Linked DNA regions of Homo sapiens: all the other regions are linked to region 1. The links are contacts of gene promoters, found by promoter capture Hi-C in blood cells and fetal thymus (Javierre and others, 2016). All regions are on one chromosome and are shown on one strand. Each heading gives the region's core, a stretch centred on a gene start or on the middle of the fragment in contact. The rest is flanking DNA. Distances are from core to core; before and after follow the strand shown. Region 1 holds the start of CREB3L4 (cAMP responsive element binding protein 3 like 4). Region 2 overlaps INTS3 (integrator complex subunit 3). Region 3 holds the start of CFAP141 (cilia and flagella associated protein 141). Region 4 overlaps TPM3 (tropomyosin 3). Region 5 overlaps INTS3 (integrator complex subunit 3). Region 6 overlaps GATAD2B (GATA zinc finger domain containing 2B). Region 7 overlaps GATAD2B (GATA zinc finger domain containing 2B).

What was found. Contacts are between HindIII fragments. The CHiCAGO score rates a contact against its expected background, and 5 or more counts as called.
Region 2: a contact is called between a fragment that was not itself captured here and the fragment with the promoter of CREB3L4 in region 1, in 13 of 17 cell types (total B cells, M0 macrophages, naive B cells and 10 more). The highest score is 11.1, in total B cells.
Region 3: the fragment with the promoter of CFAP141 here is called in contact with the fragment with the promoter of CREB3L4 in region 1 in 4 of 17 cell types (erythroblasts, M0 macrophages, megakaryocytes and 1 more); the score reaches 6.9 in erythroblasts.
Region 4: a contact is called between a fragment that was not itself captured here and the fragment with the promoter of CREB3L4 in region 1, in 6 of 17 cell types (M0 macrophages, erythroblasts, total B cells and 3 more). The highest score is 7.7, in M0 macrophages.
Region 5: a contact is called between a fragment that was not itself captured here and the fragment with the promoter of CREB3L4 in region 1, in 5 of 17 cell types (total B cells, M2 macrophages, monocytes and 2 more). The highest score is 9.6, in total B cells.
Region 6: a fragment that was not itself captured here is called in contact with the fragment with the promoter of CREB3L4 in region 1 in 17 of 17 cell types (total B cells, total CD8 T cells, naive B cells and 14 more); the score reaches 19.0 in total B cells.
Region 7: a fragment that was not itself captured here is called in contact with the fragment with the promoter of CREB3L4 in region 1 in 12 of 17 cell types (total B cells, monocytes, naive CD8 T cells and 9 more); the score reaches 10.7 in total B cells.

The regions. Positions count from the first base shown.
Region 1 is chr1:153,966,326-153,969,151 of GRCh38, forward strand. It overlaps CREB3L4 (cAMP responsive element binding protein 3 like 4), which reads left to right and starts at 1,577. Exons shown (of 10, transcript NM_001255978.2): 1 at 1,577-1,839; 2 at 2,197-2,374; 3 at 2,605-2,826. The coding sequence starts at 2,201. It also overlaps a transcript of SLC39A1 not described here. RefSeq lists enhancers at 863-1,719, 1,154-1,373, 1,584-1,693, 1,724-1,843 and a silencer at 1,334-1,835. The HindIII fragment of the contact is 4,469 bases long and covers 1-2,638 here.
Region 2 is chr1:153,731,607-153,734,432 of GRCh38, forward strand. The region is part of intron 1 of INTS3 (integrator complex subunit 3); the gene reads left to right. Among named protein-coding and RNA genes, the nearest start is that of INTS3, 5.0 kb to the left of the region's middle. RefSeq lists an enhancer at 2,141-2,640. The HindIII fragment of the contact is 3,671 bases long and covers 1-2,826 here.
Region 3 is chr1:154,204,928-154,207,753 of GRCh38, forward strand. It overlaps CFAP141 (cilia and flagella associated protein 141), which reads right to left and starts at 1,406. Exons shown (of 4, transcript NM_001010979.3): 1 at 1,348-1,406; 2 at 671-711. The coding sequence starts at 1,380. It overlaps LTAP1 (lipid transport auxiliary protein 1), which reads right to left. Exons shown (of 7, transcript NM_001098616.3): 7 at 1,793-2,721. The coding sequence ends at 2,526. The HindIII fragment of the contact is 7,725 bases long and covers 1-2,245 here.
Region 4 is chr1:154,178,009-154,180,834 of GRCh38, forward strand. All of the region lies in intron 2 of TPM3 (tropomyosin 3), which reads right to left. Among named protein-coding and RNA genes, the nearest start is that of TPM3, 13 kb to the right of the region's middle. RefSeq lists an enhancer at 2,185-2,826. The HindIII fragment of the contact is 2,058 bases long and covers 408-2,465 here.
Region 5 is chr1:153,757,861-153,760,686 of GRCh38, forward strand. It overlaps INTS3 (integrator complex subunit 3), which reads left to right. Exons shown (of 30, transcript NM_023015.5): 11 at 1,666-1,753; 12 at 2,451-2,530. Among named protein-coding and RNA genes, the nearest start is that of SLC27A3, 16 kb to the right of the region's middle. The HindIII fragment of the contact is 8,511 bases long and covers 1-2,826 here.
Region 6 is chr1:153,810,673-153,813,498 of GRCh38, forward strand. GATAD2B (GATA zinc finger domain containing 2B) reads right to left here. Exons shown (of 11, transcript NM_020699.4): 8 at 2,578-2,780; 9 at 1,350-1,460; 10 at 1,059-1,176. Among named protein-coding and RNA genes, the nearest start is that of SLC27A3, 37 kb to the left of the region's middle. The HindIII fragment of the contact is 1,796 bases long and covers 564-2,359 here.
Region 7 is chr1:153,834,177-153,837,002 of GRCh38, forward strand. All of the region lies in intron 1 of GATAD2B (GATA zinc finger domain containing 2B), which reads right to left. Among named protein-coding and RNA genes, the nearest start is that of SLC27A3, 60 kb to the left of the region's middle. The HindIII fragment of the contact is 5,159 bases long and covers 1-2,826 here.

The DNA.
Region 1 (2,826 bases), core at 327-2,826:
AGGGTAACCTTGAGAAAGTTACTTAAACTTGTCAGCTCGGACGGGCGTGGTGGCTCACGCCTGTAATCCCAGCACATTGGGAGGCCGAGGTGGACGGATCACGAGGTCAGATCGAGACCACCCTGGCTAACACGGTGAAACCCTGTCTCTACTAAAAATACAAAAAAATTAGCTGGGCGCCTGTAGTCCCAGCTACTAGGGAGGCTGAGGCAGGAGAATGGCGTGAACCCGGGAGGCGGAGCTTGCAGTGAGCCGAGATCGAGCCTCTGCACTCCAGCCTGGGCCACAGAGCAAAAGAAAAACAAACAAACAAACTTGTCAGCTCCATCTGCTGTAAGAATTATATGAGTAACATGGAAATGCCTGACTAGACCCTGTTCCCGTTTTTACCCTTAGCCCGTTCAAATCTTCATAAGGATAATTAGTAGCAGTTTGAGTTCTGGGATTCACACTCCAAACTACTGTTTTACTCACCCAGCTACCCTTTTCTGAAATACTACTGAAAACCATACCTGTATCAGTTTACCTCCATTGTTTTACTTGAAGTGAATTCCTGGACCATCAGACATTAGACCAAGGCAAAAAAATAAAAATAATCAATCAACCCTGAGTTTTGGTATTACTACTTTCTAGTCATGGATCTGCCTCCTCATAGGTAAAATTTGCAAAATATTACCCGCCGTGTGTGCCTCAGAACTGTTATGGATTAAGGAAGAGAACAATTTTTATGAAAACGTTTTGTAAATTATACAAGTGTGGGACATAATGTTCCCGGTAACTGTATGCAAACAATAAGACAACAAACGCAAAAGGCTTTTTAACTTGTTGCAGTTTTCCTGCCCCGTGTCCCTCCGTGAATGAGCAGCGTGCAGCGAGCGTGTGCGCACAGCTGCTGTTCTCCATTAACGCCACACTGCTCGGCTTGCGGACGGGGAAACCCGCCATCGCGCTCCTGCCGCCTGCCGAGCGAGGATCACCGCTCCACTGGGGTCAGCGGGCTGTTGACTCCCCGCCTGGGTGAAACCGGAGCTTCCGAGTCACGTGGCGCGCGAAGACAAACCTGGCTGCTCAGGGTTTCCCGGAGCTTTCTCCCAGCTTCCCGGCGATTCATATTCTGGCGCTTACCCCTCCCTTTAGGCTGGCGGAACCCAATCCCCGCCTGACAAATAAGTCCCGCCGGCCGGACGCAGTGGCTCGCGCCTGTGGTCCTAGCTGCTCGCGGTGCTGAGGCGGGAGAATCACCTGAGCCCGGGAGGTCGGGGGCTGCATGGAACCGTGATCGCACCACCGCACTCCAGCCTGGGCAACAGAGCGAGACCCTGTCTCCAAAAATAAGAATAAAGAAAAAAAAAAGAAAGAACTGCGGCCCCATTGGCCTGACTCTCCTGAACAGCCAAACTGTCTCCGACCAGTTACGGAAGAGGCGGCCTTGAGAGGGTAGTGTGCCATTGGCTCGATGTCCTGCCCCTCCGAAACCTAAGTCTTCAGCTTCCAATCAGGACTCAGCTTTGGGAAGAGCGCCACGCGGTGGGCGAGGGGATGCCCTAGTAAATTCGCAGGTCTCTTGACTCTTTCCGCCTTTGTTTACAACCCTGCCATGATCTCCCTCTTGCAAAAGCGAGGGCTACAGAACAGGCATTCAGGAGTCCTGTGCTCCAGTCACAGCCTTTTCTGTTCTTCAGCTAGGAGACACCAAACCCTCAGGAAGATTTACTATAGCTAAGAGAAAACTGCAGCAGAAAGGGCGCGGCTACCTACTTCTTAAATTCCGTTTGTGGACCCTCAGACTCTTAGTCCCCTACTCCCAGATACAGCGGCCCTACCGTGGCTCCTGGCAAGGTGGCATCCACTTTTGTAGTGTAAGGCTGGGGGCGGGGTTTGGCTGGCAGGTCCAGGATACGAGATCCTGGAAGAAAGAAAAGGTGTAGTGTTTGGGGAGGTCAACGGGCTATGCTGGCTTGACAGGGCTGGGCTCTTCAGAACAGGTAATGCTTGGGGGGGGCCTCTTTGTCTAAACCTGAGGGATAGGGCTGAAGGTGAAATATCGAGGGGACAGGTGAGGGGGCTTGCTAGTGAGGAAGGAGTGGGGGGGCGGGGATAATGGAAAAGGGAGCAGAGGAGCCCAGAAACTGTAGGGGGTAGTAAGCAGCCATCATTCCGTTTCTGCAACCCTCCGTCCCACACGCCTTCCTGCAGAAGCATGGATCTCGGAATCCCTGACCTGCTGGACGCGTGGCTGGAGCCCCCAGAGGATATCTTCTCGACAGGATCCGTCCTGGAGCTGGGACTCCACTGCCCCCCTCCAGAGGTTCCGGTAACTAGGCTACAGGAACAGGGACTGCAAGGCTGGAAGTCCGGTGGGGACCGTGGCTGTGTGAGTGTGACGAGTGGGAGTGGGGGTGGGGTTGAGACACAACTCTGTGATAAGAGGCTTCAGCTCCCACTTGGAGACAGGTCTGAAAACAGACCACCCCCAAAATAGACGTAAGTTGTATAATAACTGTCTCCATGCCCAAGAAGTGAAAGGACTGAAAATGAAGCATAAGTCAGGGAGGACTTCCAAAATTCTTCCCTGCACATATATATAACCTTTTCCTACTGTAGGGCCTTCAAGAGAGTGAGCCTGAAGATTTCTTGAAGCTTTTCATTGATCCCAATGAGGTGTACTGCTCAGAAGCATCTCCTGGCAGTGACAGTGGCATCTCTGAGGACCCCTGCCATCCAGACAGTCCCCCTGCCCCCAGGGCAACCAGTTCTCCTATGCTCTATGAGGTTGTCTATGAGGCAGGGGCCCTGGAGAGGATGCAGGGGGAAACTGGGCCAAAT
Region 2 (2,826 bases), core at 114-2,613, 230 kb before region 1:
GAGTCTCACTCTGTCGCCCAGGCTGGAGTGGTGCAGTGGTGGGATCTTGGCTCACTGCAAGCTCTGCCTCCCGGGTTCACACCATTCTCCTGCCTCAGCCTCCCGAGTAGCTGAGACTACAGGCGCCTGCCACCACGCCCGGCTAATTTTTTGCATTTTTAGTAGAGACAGGGTTTCACCATGTTAGCCAGGATGGTCTCTATCTCCTGACCTCATGATCCGCCCACCTCGGCCTCCCAAAGTGCTGGGATTACAGACTTGAGCCACCGCACCTGGCCCCGCGTCTTTTTTTAACTTTTTTTTTTTTTTTTTTTTTTTTGAGACAGAGTCTCCCTCTGTCGCCCAGGCTGGAGTGCAGTGGCGCGATCTTGGCTCACTGCAACCTCTGCCTCCCGGGTTCAAGCGATTCTCCTGCCTCAGCCTCCAGAGTAGCTGGGATTACAGGCACTACCACTCCTGGCTAATTTTTGTATTTTTAGTAGAGATGGGTTTCACCATGTTGGCCAGGCTGGTCTCGAACTCCTGACCTCAGGTGATCCACCTGCCTTGGCCTTCCAAATTGCTGGGATTACAGGCATGAGCCACCGAGCCTGGCCAGAGCTTCCTCTTAAGCGCTGGATAGGTCTCAGGGTTGCATTTGGTTAGAGGTATGTCTCTACCTGGTTTTCCCCAAGGAATAATTCATATACATATGTGAGGAGTCTCCAGGGACTGGGCTTTGAGTCACTTCTAGTTTTTGTCCCCTTACAAATCATAATTTCATATACCAGTGACTCATGGTTGTGGAATACTTTGAACGCAGCTTGTTCAATAACTCCTCACCTACGTGAGTCCTTGGGGATTTTTTTTTTTTTTTTAAACGGAGTTTCCCTCTTGTTACCCAGGCTGTAGTGCAATGGCGTGATCTCAGCTAACTGAAACCTCTGCCTCCTGTGTTCAAGCGATTCTCCTGCGTCAGCCTCCCAAGTAGCTGGGATTACGGAAGCCCACCACCACACCCAGCTACTTTTTTTGCATTTTTAGTAGAGACGGGGTTTCACCACATTGGCTAGGCTGGTCTCAAATTCCTGAACTCAGGTGATCCACCTGCCTCGGCCTCCGAAAGTGCTGGGATTACAGGCGTGAGTCACTGTGCCTGGCCATCCTTGGGGATTTTATGAGTTAGATTGTATATTCCTTTTCTGAAAATGAGGAATTTAGTCTTTTTTTTTTTTTGAGATGGAGTCTCACTGTGTTGCCCAGACTGGAGTGCAGTGGCATCATCTCGGCTCACTGCAACCTGCACTTCCCAGATTCAAGCGATTTTCCTGCCTCAGCCTCCTGAGTAGCTAGGAGTAAAGGCACGCACCACCATGCCCGGCTAATTTTTTTGTATTTTTAGTAGAGACAGGGTTTCACCATGTTGGTCAGGCTGGTCTTGAACTCCTGACCTCGTACACCATGTTAGGCTGGTCTCGAACTCCTGACCTCATGATCCACCTACCTCGGCCTCCTAAAGTGCTGGGATTACAGGAATGAGCCACCGTGCCGGGCCAGAATTTAGTCTTTTAAGGCCACTGACTTCCCATAGGGAGCAGTATTTACCGAATGCTTTTTTTTTTTTTTTTTTTTTTTTTTTTTTTTGCAGATGCAGTCTTGCTCTGTCTCCCAGGCTGGAGTGTAGTGGTGCGATCTCGGCTCACTGCAACCTCCGCCCCCTGGGTTCAAGCGATTCTCCTGCCTCAGCCTCCCAAGTAGCTGGGACTGCAGGTGTGCACCACCACGCCCAGCTAATTTTTGTATTTTTAGTAGAGATGGGGTTTCACCATGTTGTCCAGGCTGCTCTCGAAGTCGTGACCTCGTGATCTTCCTGCCTCAGCTTCCCAAAGTGCTGGGATTACAGGCGTGAGCCACCGCACCCAGCTGTCCTTGGGGATTTTATGAGTTAGATTGTATCTTCCTTTTCTGAAGATGGGGAATTTGGTGTTTAAGGCCACTTCCCATAGGGAGCAGTATTTACTGTATGCTTTTTTTTGTGGGGAGATGGATTCTCGCTCCGTCACCCAGGCTGGAGTGCAGTGGCGCGACAGCTCCCTGCAACCTTCGCCTCCCGGGTTCAAGCGATTCTCCTGCCTCAGCCTCCCGAGTAGCTGGGACTACAAGTGTGCGCCACCACACCCGGCTGATTCTTGTATTTTTAGTAGAGATGGGGTTTCACCATGTTGGCCAGGCTGCTCTCGATCTCCTAACCTCGTGATTCGCCCCCCTCAGCCTCCCAGAGTGTTGGGACTACAGGCGTGAGCCACCACACCCAGCCACTGTATGCTTTTTACCAGACTCTATATCCACCTGGCTGAGGGAGGGGAAATGGAAAGGTTAGAGGGGTTCCTCCAGCTTGAGTCTCCAGCTTTGGGTATATACTGGGAAAGAGAAAGGCCTTCCCCCCCTTTCTCCCCCATTTCATCTGCTGCTGCTCTCATGGAAACCATGGTCAGGTAGTCTTAGTATTAGAAAAATTAGTTCAGGAGCTCCTAGAGATTGTAAATATTTACTCAGCTCTCTAAGGTACTGTCATGGAGGGCTTACTCTGAACAGAGCCATTCTGCCAGCAGTTGTTGGCATCTGAACCTATGATTCTATCTTTACTAAGAGACTCTGGAGACTAGGGGAAAAGCGTTGCTATTACTTGATTGTAGGGATCTGGCTTCCTGTGGCTTTCTTTGAAGGGACATGGTCCTTTGTCACCCTGAATGATTTGTAATCAATTTTCCCATCCCTGTTTGGAAAAGTAATTTCTGTAGTCCAGGAAGAGTAAAGTATCCTTTATACTTCTTGTTGCCTGTGAAC
Region 3 (2,826 bases), core at 156-2,655, 240 kb after region 1:
CTGGAGTGCAGTGGTGCGATCTTGGCTCACTGCACCCTCCGCATCCTAAGTTCAAGCAATTCTCCTGCCTCAGCCTCCCGAGTAGCTGGGACTACAGGCGCACACTACCATGCCTGGCTAACTTCTTTTGTATTTTAGTAGAGACAGGGTTTCACCATGTTGCCTAGGCTGGTCTTGAACTCCTGAGCTCAGGCAATCCTCCTGCCTCAGCCTCCCAAAGTGCTAGGATTACAGGCGTGAGCCACCGCGCCCGGCTGCATCAGTTTTTTCAAAAGTTCATCAGGGTGAAAAGGATACGTAGCCCAGTCTTGTGAATCTTCTCATTCACTGGTTCAACAAATACTGCACTACCAACCACATAATTAGTACAAAGCCAGGCAACAAATACTTGAATTCTTGATAAAAAAAGAAAATAAAAACATGCTTCAATTTTTCTCCAGAGAATGAGGCAGGGGACAATAAAAACCAATCTATATCACCTAACCTAGTAGGCACTAAGAGGCTGATCTCATTTGCTTTGAGGACAAGGCTGCTTCTCACCCCTTCCGCATCTGTTTTCCTCTTGATGAGCCCCTAAAGAGATGCAGCAGAGTTGGGAGGTGGCTCAGGGAAGACAGCAGAGTGGAAAGGTCAAGCTCAAAGGTAAAGGGAGGGGATAGAAGCAGATTACCTGTCGACCGTCTTCTTAAGTCCCATGGCCTTTTGAAAACTCTGCAAGAAAAGGTAGTTCTGTTGATCTGCCTCAGTCTCCAGAACCTCTATTCTAATGAGAGACATAGACCTTTTTTTTTTTTGAGACAGAGTTTTGCTCTTGTTGCCCAGGCCAGAGTGCAGTGGCGTGATCTCGGCTCACCGCAATCTCCGCCTCCCGGGTTCAAGCGATTCTCCTGCCTCAGCCTCCGAGTAGCTGAGATTATAGGAATGCACCACCATGCCGGGCTAATTTTGTATTTTTAGTAGAGATGGGGTTTCTCCATGTTGGTCAGGCTAGTCTCGAACTCCTGACCTCAGGTGATCCGCCCACCTCAGCCTCCCAAAGTGATAGGATTACAGGCGTGAGTCACCGCACCCAGCCACATAGACCTTTTTGAGAAAGCAATTTCCTGGGGGGAAATAGGGAGAGGAAAGCTCTACTTTCAGAATGGATCAAAGAAAACACGCAGGGGTTGGATAGAACACATATTTGAATACCTACTGTGTACTAGACACAGCCTCCCACTCCTGTTACTAACTACATTATACCCTTGTTACATCAAAAGCCTTTCCCAGTAAAAGATGCACTTATAGTAAATTGATCTGGAAACTTCATCAAACTTCAACCCAGCCCCTCCTTCCAACTCTGCATACCTCTTCTACTTTTGTCATCTTTTCCACAGACATGTCTATAGATTTGCTTGATACAGTCTGAGGAGACTGACAGGCTCCTCTGTTTAGTTCAGTAACCAAGGTTTCAGTAGTCATAGTAACATTTACACCTCCAACAATAACCCTGGGCCTAGGAGTTGATTGGCCACCTGGCCTGTTGCCCCAGAAACCTTGAGAGAATCCTTGTTCTGCAGCCTTCTGTTGGTGACACAGGCATCTATGAGCAAGGGCCACAGTCCTGATTTTAGGATTTCTTGTGCTAGGGTCCCAAGGAGTATGTGTATGGTCGTAGGTCCAGGGTATGCACACAGTCCCACCAATTCTCTGGAGGCAAATCCTCATGCCCTATACCCTGTTAGAAATGTGCAGATAACATTATCAAATGCCTGTTTTATTAAAAGACAACTATAAAGGACTGATTCATACGTTTTATTTGATAATAGTTCATTTTATTAAATAATTTATAAAGTCAGACCAGTGCATTGGGCTTGTTAGGGGAAACCATTCCTTCCTACTGTCACATAGCCTGGCAGATTATATCAGGTGCCAAAACATTCCCTTTTATTCAATTTATTAATGAGAGTGTGGAATTAAAGTAGATCCTTGCATGTCAGGAAAGCTGCAACACATCTGGTTTAAGTGGAGCACAAAGGTAAGTTATTCCACATTCACCAACTTCCCCACTTGACCTCCCACCAGTTCCTGTCTGCTTTTTCCATCAATCAACTCTAAGATGCCCTAAACCCAAACAGTTCCCATTCAACTGTGCACAAAGGTATAGATATGGAAGACATCTCACTCCAACTCTCACCTTTGGAATTAAATAAACCTGGAACAGGGAAGGTGAACTATGGCTGAAACCAAGTGAAGATTTTTAAGAAGCTTTGACAGAAACATTAAGAATAACACCTGAATGCAAATCCAGAAAAAAGCGCTACTGGGGGAAAATAGTCTTAGCCAATGTTCTAAAAATGCTCATAAGGAAGGGTTGGGGAATTACCCTTTAGACACAAGCTCTAAGAACTCTGGATACAACGGGAACTTGGATGGATACAGTCTGGGCCTGCTGGGCCAGATGTTCCGAGGGCGGCCCGGCAAGCAGCCTGTCTTGCACATTGCAACTGACTGGCTTAATCTACGGCAAGAGTCCTTCAGCTCCGTCACAGAGTACTCTCCAATGTGTTATAGTTATCCTTAAAGCTCTTCAATTCAAGGAAGTGCTTGGCACGTTTACTCTTCTGACTGGAGGGGAGGTATGTCACCTGGATGGTTGTTGGGGAGACCTCAGGGGACTGAGTTAGGTCTTTGGCTGCTGACTGGTGATGTCGCTGAGAGCTCCCAATTCGTGCTTTAACCCTGAAGAACAGAGAGGGGAGGTCATTGACAGAATGAGGACTAATCAAAGAAATCAGGGCTTATCCCAGGCCATAAATGCAGCAATAGTCACAAATAGTTATTTGT
Region 4 (2,826 bases), core at 187-2,686, 210 kb after region 1:
TGTAACAACACACATTTCTCCTCACAAACCCAACAAGGCCATGGATCAAGAGCAAGTCAGGCTATCAGGCAAGACCTAGGAGACACTGCTAGTAAAATGACTTACCCCCCTCAGACGAAAAATACAACTAGATTTAGAGGAAGCTCATGAAATGTAAGACATCATGCAGCTCACCAGTAGTTACCCAAACTGGAGTAGAAGATAACAGGCTATGGGGCGGGGGTGTACAGTTGCCATGACAGCAAGCTGGCTCAGGCAGTTTCTCCCACAAATCAGCATTTACAATAGAATTCTTAGCAAGGCTGAAAAGGGAGAGGGGGAAAACACATCTTGGTGCCCTCCTAAGAGCATGCACACATGAACAAGCCTGTATCAAAAGCAGAACCTGAGATGGGAGTCCTAGAAAAAGCTTCAGAGACCCCCTCCAGGGTGGAGTGGTAGGGAATGGGACCTTGCCTTTCTCTTTTCTCCTAGCACAGAGGATCAGTTCTCTTTACAATGAAACAAAAGCCTGCAGAATCAAGATCTGATACTTTGTTTAAAGGAACAAGGAAGACAAGCTGACTTTTCCCTCATGAGTCTATGCACAGTGCCTGTCCCTTTCAGGTCAAATAATACCAATGGGTACCAAGAGATTGAACAGGCCTACTTTTTGCAGACCAGGCTACCTGTGGCCCTGGGAAACGTTAAGCTCTGCACTTTCCTAATCATCTTAGGTTTTAGCATGCCCATCCAGATGCGGTTTTGGTGTTTCAGCTGACCTATCTCTGCCCAGTGTGGAGGATATACAGTACTCTGTGGTTCTTCCCTTCAAGTAATAATAGGATTCTCCACTGCCCAGGAAGCAAAGATCCTGGGTGAGGGATTGGGGAAAGAGTAGAATGCCCCAGCAACTCAGTCACATTACCAGATGGCTGACAACACCTTCGGCTATCCTCCACTCCAAAGAGATTTCCCAAATATGTCAACCCCTCCAGGCAAGAAACTGACAGTGTGATGGTACTCTCAGGCAGAACAGGGCCAAGGACAGAAGGGGATTAGCCTAAATCTGGCTTTCTGCCACACTGGGGTTTCTCTTATTAGATAAAAGCCACAGATAAAATTCAAATGAAAGAGTATCAGAAAGTTAGGCTTGAGCCCTGTGAGTAAAGGACTATTTGAGTTCACTGTGCTCACAAATGCATTACCCAGGGAGATACCGTGTCCTTGGGGAATTTAAACTTCACCAAAGGGGAGGCAAGTTGGAAGGGAGTAGAGCTATCTGCCCCACAGTAAACAAAGGCGGAGCCTAAGCAGGGGTAAAGGGCTATCTGCCTCTCCCCTGTGAGTGTGTGTTCTAGTACTGGGGAAAGAGAAAGGAAAGCAAAGCAACCAAAGAAAGGTTGCTTAGTCCACCAGGCCCACGAATAGAAGAGAACCACACAACAGTCAAGCATTCTAACCTCTCCAGAGACTAGGAATTTAGGATTAAGGCCAGAATCAAAGCCCACTCCCTCGGTAGTACTCTTAAGGTTTTTGTTATTACTTTTTTTTTTCTTTTTGAGGCAGAGGTAGTGTGCTGACCTTACACTCCCGCAGTTGACCCCTCACTCCCCCAGTGCCGATACTCGCCCAGGCTGGAGTACAGTGGCATGATCCAATCCTGGTTCACTGCCACCTCCGCCTCCAGGGTTGAAGCAATTCTTGTGCCTCAGCCTCCCAAGTAGCTGGGATTACAGGCATGCGCCACCATGCCCAGCTAATTTTTTGTATTTTTAGTAGAGATGGGGTTTCATCAGATCCACAGGTGGACCTCAGATCCACCCGCCTAGGCCTCCCAAAGGGCTGGGATTACAGGTGTGAGCCACCGCACCCAGCCTCTTAAGTTTTTTAGACTAGAAAAAAATTAAAAAGAGAAAAATATCAGGGACAATTAGGAGAGAGTTATTAAAAACAGATAAGGTGAACTGTACATTTATAAATGGTTAAAATGGTAAATTTTACATGTATTTTTATCACCACTACCACAAAAAAAAAGAGATAAGGAAAAAGACTGCATTTAAACATTATGTTGCCATCTGTTTCCATTTAGACAGAAGTAAAAAGGAAATACAGAACTGAAAGTAAATTTGACAAGGTGCTACATTATAAAAGACCAATTTCCAGGCCGAGAGCAGAAAAGAAAGATGGATCCTAGAACACCAGTGTCTCAGTTTTAGACTCATCTAGCTTCCCAACAAGGGTGGCTTGGATGTTCACACAAAGTAACCAGGAAAATAATTAAGTGACAATCCCACTAACAGCATGAGATACCATCAGAGAGTGCAGTTTCCCGCTCCAGAGGAGGGAGGAGTCTGCAAAACCCACATTCCAGAATGCCTTAAGAGGATAACAGGTAGCCCAAGCAACCCCCCTCCCTTCCCACAGGTGTCTCCTCCTCAGTAGGGGTTCAAAGTTCAGCAGAGCAGCAGAAAGTCAAAAGATTAAGCTTCTTCAGGCTGGGGAGTAGAAGAAATGATTTCATCAATATTTAACTATAACTCTACTTCCCCATTCTGAGGACTTCCTCACTAGACCTCAGCTCAATAAGCAAATTTGGCAGGCTCTGAGTGAAAGTAGCTTAAGAAACATCACCCCAGGACAGGCGCAGTGGCTCATGCCTGTAATCTCAGCACTTTGGGAGGCTGAGGCAGGCAGATCACTTGAGGTCAGGAGTTTGAAACCAGCCTGGCCAACATGGTGAAACCCCATCTCTACTAAAAATAAAAAAATAAAATAATAAAAAAAAATCGCCGAGTGTGGTGGTGGATGCCTGTAATCCCAGCCACTCAGGAGGCTAAGGCAGGA
Region 5 (2,826 bases), core at 124-2,623, 210 kb before region 1:
GGGCCCTTCTTTCACTCTGGTCTTCCAGAGTGTCTCAGCCTTCACTTCCCTTTGTGTCTCTAGAAATTTACTTACACTCATTATTTTCCATCTGGGTTTGAGATTGAACAGGTTCATCTCCCCCATTACTGCCAACCCCCAAAAGCCTGGGTTTCTGGAGCGTCCCTGCCTTTTTCATTTTTGCTTCCAGAAACCATATACAGCTATTCCTCTTAACTGTTTCTTTCTCAGATTCAGAGCTTGCATTCTTTAGACCCTCACCACCATGCCTTTTTGGCATCAGCTTTGTCTACTTCCCTTCTGTAAATGCAGCGAATCTGCAGTGGAGGCATTTCCTTTCAAATGTTTTCCTCTCTGTGCCTAGGGTGGGAAACTATCCATTCTCTGGCATCTGGCTGCCCCCTGACCTCTTCCAACAGGGTTCCTCCTCCCCCATTTGACTGGGTCCTTGGAATGTGCTGATTCAGATATGACAACAGGCTATTCCTGGAGGGGTGGGGGTCTCTTCTTCAGGAATGTGCCTGGAGAGCCCAGAAAGGGCAGCCAAGGGGTGCTAGTCTGACTGTTGCCTCAGCTCAGGGGTGATGAGTGGACTTCTGAGTCCAAGCATTGTCCCCTATGGGAATCAGAGATATGAACTGCTGGATGTATCAAGAACCCAGGCCTGCCGAGCACGGTGGCTCACGCCTGTAATCCCAGCACTTTGGGAGGTTGAGGTGGGCAGATTGCTTGAGCTCAGGAGTTTGAGACCAGCCTGGGCAACATGGCAAGACCCCATCTCTACAAAAAAATACAAAAATTAGCCAAGTGTGTTGGTGTGCGGCTGTAGTCCCAGGCTGAGGTGAGAGGACCGCTTGAGCCTGGGAGGTAGAGGTTGCAGTGAGCTGAGATCCTGCCACTGCACTCCAGCCTGGGTGACAGAGTCAGACCCTGTCTCAACAACAAAAAGAAAAGAACCCAGGCCTGGCCAGGCATGGTGGCTCTCACCTATAATCCCAATACTTTGGGAGGCTGAGGTGGGAGGATCACTTGAGCCCAGGAGTTCAAGACCAGCCTGGGCAACATGGCAAAACCCATCTCTACCAAAACAAAACAAAACAAAACATAAAGCCACGCATGGTGGTGTGCTCCTGTAGTCCCAGCTACCAAGGAGGCTGAGGCTGGGAGGATCACCCGAGCCTAAGAGGTCAAGGCTGGAGTAAGCCGTGATCATGCCACTGCGCTCCAGCCTGGGTGACATGGCAAGACCCTCATCTCTACAAAAAAATAGAAAAATGAGCCAGGTGAGGTGGTGCGTGCCTGTAGTCCCAGGCTGAGGTGAGAGGCTCTCTCGAGCCTGGGCGGTGGAGGTTGCAGTGAGCTGAGATCATGCCACTGCACTACAGCCTGGGCAACAGAGCAAGACCCTGTCTGGAAAAAAAAAAAAAAAGGTTCGGGGGGTACCTGGCCCAATCCCTGTCCTCTGTCCTCTTGGTTAAGACCATAAGACCACAGAGTATTCACTCATACACAACACAAGGGGGGTTAGCATTTCACCGTGTTTCACTAGGAACTGAATTTCATAGATGAAACAGCCAAGTGGGGCCTGGAATCTGTCTTGGGACTCTGAAATGGAGGGGGGTGATTGATGAAACTAGCCCTCTGTTTCTCCCCTCTCTTTTCCAGTCAAATGTCGCTGCCTCCAATGCCAAGCTGGCTTTGTTTTATGACTGGCTGTTCTTTAGTCCAGACAAGGATAGCATTATGAACATAGGTATGTGACCAAGACCAGGCGGCTCCACTTCCCCATCCCCCTAAGCCCCCACTGCCTTCCTTAGTGATAGCAGTCATAAATCTCAGGGCACCGTGGAGTGGAGGCAGTTTATCTGGGAGCAGCTCTGTTGTTCCTCATCAGTTTTCCCTTGACCTAGAAAGAGAATTGCTTTGATAAGGCTAAGCCATCACTGTACCTCCTCCCCACAGTCTTCAGGATGCATGGTCTTCAGGAGGGGAGGGCATGGGCAAAGGAAAAGGCTGTACCATGTCCTGCTTCTCCTCACCTATTACTTCCCTTCTCAAAGCTGAATGCTGGGAACAAGAAGGGAAATGAGGGCTACAAGCTGTTTCGGGGCCTGTCTGCTCTTGGGTCTGCTCAGTGGAAATGGGGGGAATAGACATAGCACTTCCCAGAGCCATTCATGTATATTGACATCCCATTTTATGGAGATAGAAACAGACTGACTTTAGCCTGGCGTGGTGGCGCACACCTGTAATTCCAGCTGCTGGGGAGGTTGAGGCATGAGATTCGCTTGAACCTGGGAGGCAGAGGCTTCAGTGAGCTGAGATCGTACCATTTGCACTCCAGCCTGGGTGACAGAGCAAGACTCTGTTTCAAAAAAAAAAAAAAAAAAAAAAAAAAGAGAGAGAGAGACTGACTGATGTGAGGGGCTCTTTAATTTCACATCCTCCAGAACCAGCCATCCTGGTCATGCACCACTCCATGAAGCCCCACCCAGCCATCACTGCCACACTCCTGGACTTCATGTGCCGCGTAAGTGTTAGAGCTCTCTTTTCTCCCCATGCCTGGATGAGCAGAATTCAGTGTATCTCCCCTAATCTCCCAGTGAACGGGTCTTCTCGGTATGCCTTGACTGAGAGCAGAAATGGTCATGGGTCCTATCCCCCAAGTTAATAAATGCTTCCCTTCCATATTCCACTGTCTGCACTTGGATCTTCCCATTTTCTGTGGGGTTTCTCAATCACAAGGATGGTGACTCAAGGTAGAATCTGGTTTCCTTGGGGAGCAGCCAGGTCCAGTAAGAATTTCTCATTTGAGTGGCCTGGAGT
Region 6 (2,826 bases), core at 212-2,711, 160 kb before region 1:
CTTGAACTCCTGACCTCAAATGATCCAACGGCCTCAGCCTCCCAAAGTGCTGGGATTACAGGCATGACCCACTGCACCCAGCCAATTAATTTTGTTTGCTTATTTATCTGAGACAGAATTTCGCTCGTTGCCCAGGCTGGAGGTGCAGTGGCACAATCTCAGCTCACTGCAAGCCCCACCTCCCAAGTTCAAGCGATTCTCCTGCCTCAGCCTCCCGAGTAGCTGGGATTACAGGCACCAGCCACCACGCCGGGCTAATTTTTTGTATTTTCAGTAGAGATGGGGTTTCATCATGTTGGCCAGGGTGGTCTTGAACTCCTGACCTCAGGTAATCCACTCGCTTTGGCCTCCCAAAGTGCTGGGATTATAGGCATGAGCCACCACGCCCAGCCAATTTTTTGTATTTTTAGTAGAGACAGGGTTTCACCATGTTGGTCAGCCTGGTCTTGAACTCCTGATCTCAAGTGATTCGCCTGCCTCGGCCTCTCAAAGTGCTGGGATTACAGGTGTGAGCCACCGCGCCCTGCACAGCAACTTTATTTCAATCCCCACTCATATTCCTAAGCTTTAGGAAAAGGGGACTTCCTGAAATTTCGGTCCTACCAAGAATAATGAACATGCTTCTGATGGTATGGGAGAGACAAGTGAAACAGTGGTGAGAGGAAGATGAATAAGACAGAGAGATAGAATCATTAAATCAGCTTTGATTTTGAGGCTGCAGATTGTGCAGAAGCATCCCTGGATCATTCAAACAGAACAGTTAACCCTGCTGTCCCGGCCAAAAGAGATCAATAACCACATGTCTACTGAAGGGATATTAAAAGTTAAATTGATAATGGTAGGATCTGGGTCATTTTCACCACCAAAACCCTAGTGCATTGTGGGTGGCACTTAATATGAATTTAGCAAACATTTGCTGAGTAACAGAAGAGTGAGAGTGTATGCCCTAAAGAAAGAACAGAAAGTAAAGGAACAATTCCCTTAAAGGGGCTGCTACAGAACTGTATACTAACTAACAGCTGACCCATGAGAAACATTTTCAGATTAATCCTTCTTACCTGGCATACCAAGGAGGCCACCTGGCACAGACAACTGGGGTGCCTGTGCAAAGTTTGAAAGCATGGAGCGGGCAGATGTGGGTATGCCACGCTGGAGGCTGCTCTGGGGCTGTGGAGCCTGCAATGATGAGGAGACAGTGGATACAACTTTGATATGATAGAATGTTAAGCGGGGGCAAAGATAAGGGAGTACAGAAGAAGACTATGATTTCCCACAATAGAAAGGACAAATTGTGATAAATGGCTGATAAATCTTCTAAAGAAATCAGGATCAGGCAAAAAGTTCCTTACCTGCCGAAGCGTATGATGTCTCATGATGGTCTCTTGTTTACTGACACTGGACACAGCTGGAGCCGTAGTGGGGGAGAGGGCTGCCTGCTGCTGTAATCGCTGTTCAATTTCCTGTTGGGAGTCATCACATCAGGTGATTGAGCAGGACAGCACCCAATACCCAATTTCCTTTTTTTTTTTTTTTTTTAAACAGAGACACAATCTGACTTTGTTGCCCAGGCTGGTCTGGCACTCCTGGGCTCAAGCAATCCTCTCACCTTAGCCTCCCCAAAGTGCTGGGATTACAGGCATGAATCACTGCACCTGGCCCACCCAATTTCCTAACCAGAAAACCTGGAGGTGTTCTTACCTCTAATGTTGTTGGCTAGTTGGTGGAATATGGAAAAGGCAAAAGAGTTTGGTGGGGGTGGTACACTGAGATTTCTGGGTATAAGCAGCTAACTTGCTTCAATGATCAAGGGATCCTCCTCTCTTTCTCCAGGAAAGCTGGCTCTAAGAAGTTGGCTGGAGGTGATGAACCAACTGATATAATTAAGGCTGATGAATTACTGGGGTTTTATTTTATCACTTTTTCTTTTCTCTTTTTAAAAATTTTTATTTATTTATTTTTTACCACCAGTCCTAGAGCATAAATGGGGTTTTATTTTTGACTCCTGCCTACCCGATCTTCCAAAAAGTCCATGATGCTACTCAAACAAGGGACTCTGATGGGTGGAGTGGGAAATAGGAAGAAAAGGATCTGAGTTTCCCAACACATTTTTCCTTCTCTAAGATATTCTCATCCTATAACTGCTACATGAGATGTTCACATACTCTAGAACCACTACTCTTCACTGGGCTACTTCATAATTCACTCTTTCTTTCGTCATTTCTTATCAAACACGCACTGCAAATAACTGTTTCAAAGAGATTTATAGCACAAATATAAATTCCTCCCACCAAAATCTATTATTTGTTTTAGGAAAAAATGAAGATGAGAATAGAGTGCTATGGAAAAGCCAAGAGTCCCAAGCTTTCTGTCCCTTTCTGTTAACCTCAGCCATTATATTTTACCATGTTCTTAATCAGAATACTCGCTCAAATGGAAATAGGACACAATGATAAGGAGACAAAAAGGGAACCTGTGGACCTGTAGGGATCACATGAACCACTCCTGCAAACTAGAAGGCGCGACCCTTTGGAAAAAACAAACTGGGACAGGTGGCCAGTGAGCAGTCAGAATTCTTACCTGTTCCTGCTGTAGGGCTTTCACAAATGCATTTTTCAGCCGGTTGGTGTGTTCAGCTTTTAGAGCCTTTTTCTGGTTGGAGGTCATACACTGCTCACATAGAATCTTACCATTCTTTTCTTGCTTCCAGTGAGGGGTGAAATCTGTGCGGCACTGGGCACATACAAAGGGTTCAACCCGCAGAAGTGAGGCACAGCTTTTGCCTAGATACCAACAAAAATAGTCAGTGGCTTTACATTTCCTATCTCC
Region 7 (2,826 bases), core at 93-2,592, 130 kb before region 1:
TATTTTTGCTATAGAGATGGGGTTTCACCGTGTCAGCCAGGATGGTCTCGAACTCCTGACCTCGTGATCCGCCCACCTCAGCCTCCCAAAGTGCTGGGATTACAGGCATGACCACCACGCCCAGCCAAGACCCTGTCTCTATAAAAATAAAAATTTAAAAAACCTCCTGGAAATTATTTACCATTGCAGGAGGAAGTAAAACTATTAACATTTTTCTTTTCTTTTTCTTTTTTTTAAGACGGAGTTTTGCTCTTGTTGCCCAGGCTGGAGTGCAATGGTGCGATCTCAGCTCACCTCCACCTTCCAGGTTCAAGCAATTCTCCTGCCTCAGTCTCCCGAGTAGCTGGGATTACAGGCATGTGCCACCCCAGGCCCAGCTAATTTTGTATTTTTAGTAGAGAAAGGGTTTCTCCATGTTGGTCAGGCTGGTCTCGCACTCCCGACCTCAGGTGATCTGCCTGCCTCGGCTTCCCAAATTGCTGGGATTACAGGCATGAGCCACCACGCCCGGCCTAAAACTATCAACACTAACAGGAATTTGAAAGAAGTTGATTATAACTTTCATACATGACCTTTGACAGGTTCAAGGTTTCAATGGAGGAAATGACTGCAAAAGTGGTAGAAACAGCAAGAAAACTACAATTAGAAGGGAGCCTGGGCAAGGCACAGCTGGGATCCCAGCACTGTAATCCCAGCACTTTGGGAGGCTGAGACAGGAGGATCACTTGAGCCCAGGAGTTCGAGACCAACCTGGACAACAAAGTGAGACCCTATCTCTACAGAAAATAAAAAAAAAAATTAGTTGGGCACGGTGGCATGCACCTCACTCAGGAGAGTGAGGTGAGGGGATCGCATGAGCCCAGGAGTTTGAGGCTACAATGAGCTACGATCATGCCACTGCACTCCAGCTTGGGTGACAGACCACAACTGAGTCTCTTTAAAAAACAAACAAAAAACAAAAATTTGAATGGATAAGGAGTTGCTTCTTATGGATGAGCAAAGAAAGTGGTTTCTTGAGATGGAATCTACTCCTGGTAAGATGCTGTGAACACTGTTGAAATGACACCAGAAGATTTAGAATATTCCATAAACTTGAGTTGACAAAGCAGCAGGGTTTGAAAGAAATGACACCAATGTTGAAAGCAGTTCTACTGTGGATAAAATGGTATTAAACAGTACCGCATGCTATATGAAAATCTTTCATGAAAGGAGAGTCAATCCATGTGGCAAACTTCATCATCTTATTTTAAGAAACTGCCAGGTTGGGCAGGCGCAGTGGCTCATGCCTGTAATCTCAAAAAAAAAAAAAAATTGCCAGGTTACCCCAACCTTCAGCAACCACCACACTAATGGGTGAGCAGTCATCCACATGGAGGCAAGACACTCTACCAGCTAAAAGATAATGACTTGCTGAAGGCTCAGATGATTGTTAGTACTTTTTAGCAAGAAAGTGTTTTTTATTTAAGATGTATTCATTGTTTTCTTAGACATAATCCTATTGCACTTAATAGACTACAGCATAATGTAAACATAACTTTTATTTTATTATTATTATTATTTTTTTGAGACAGACTCTTGCTCTGTCGTCCAGGCTGGAGTGGAGTGGCGTGATCTCGGTTCATTACAACCTCTGCCTCCTGAGTTCAAGCGATTCTACTGCCTCAGCCTCCTGAGTAGCTGGGATTACAGGCGCGTACCACCATGCCCAGCTACTTTTTGTATTTTTAGTAGAGACAAGGTTTCACCATGTTGACCAGGCTGGTCTCAAACTCCTGACTTCAAGCAATCCTCCCGCCTCAGCCTTCCAGAGTGCTTGGATTACAGGCGTGAGCCACTGCGTCTGGCCTAAACATAACTTTTATATACACTGGGAAACCAAAAAATTTGTGTGACTTGCTTTATTGCAATATTTGCTTTATTGTGGTGGTCTGGAATGGAACATACAAAATCTCTGAGGTATGTCTATACTTTAGAAAAGTACACAGTAAGGCAGTGGCTTGTGTGTGTAATCCCAGTGACACAAGAGGATCATTGGAGGCTGAGAGTTTGAGACCATCCTGGGAGACTCATCTCTAAAAAAAAATTTGTTTTTTTTTTTTTTTTTTTAGACAGTCTGTCACCCAGGCTGGAGTGCAGTGGCACAGCCTCGGCTCACTGCAAGCCTCCCAGGTTCAAGTGATTCTCATGCCTCAGCCTTCCAAGTAGCTGAGATTACAGGTGTTCGCCACCATACTCGGCTAATTTTTGTATTTTTAGTAGAGACGAGGTTTCTCCATGTTGGCCAGGCTAGTCTTGAACTCCTGACCTCAAGTGATCCGCCCACCTTGGCCTCCCAAAGTGCTGGGATTACAGGCGTGAGCCACTGCACCCAGCCTAAAAAAGTTAAAAAAAAAAGGCATGGTGACTGAAGTGGGAAGATCATTTGAGCCCAGGAGTTTGAGGCTGCAGTGAGCTATGATTGCGCCACTCTACTCCAGCCTGGGTGACAGAGCAAGACCCTGTCTCTTAAGTACACATAGCAAGATATACACATTTAAGTTGATATACTACAGTATTCTAAGTTTTGAGATATATTCACGTGCACTGATAGTATATGACAAAACAACAAAATTCAATAACCTAGAGCTAGAGTTTGGGGTGCCATCATTACCTTGGCTCCTTGAATTGACAATTATACAAACAGCTGAAAGTAAGTCAAATAATTTCCCCTTACTATACATTAATGATTCAAGAAAGAAACTGACCCATCAGAGGTTGTGAGAAACCAGAACCCAGATACCTGAATGTCTGAGGTAAGTCTTTCCTAATAGATAGCTTGAGAATTCT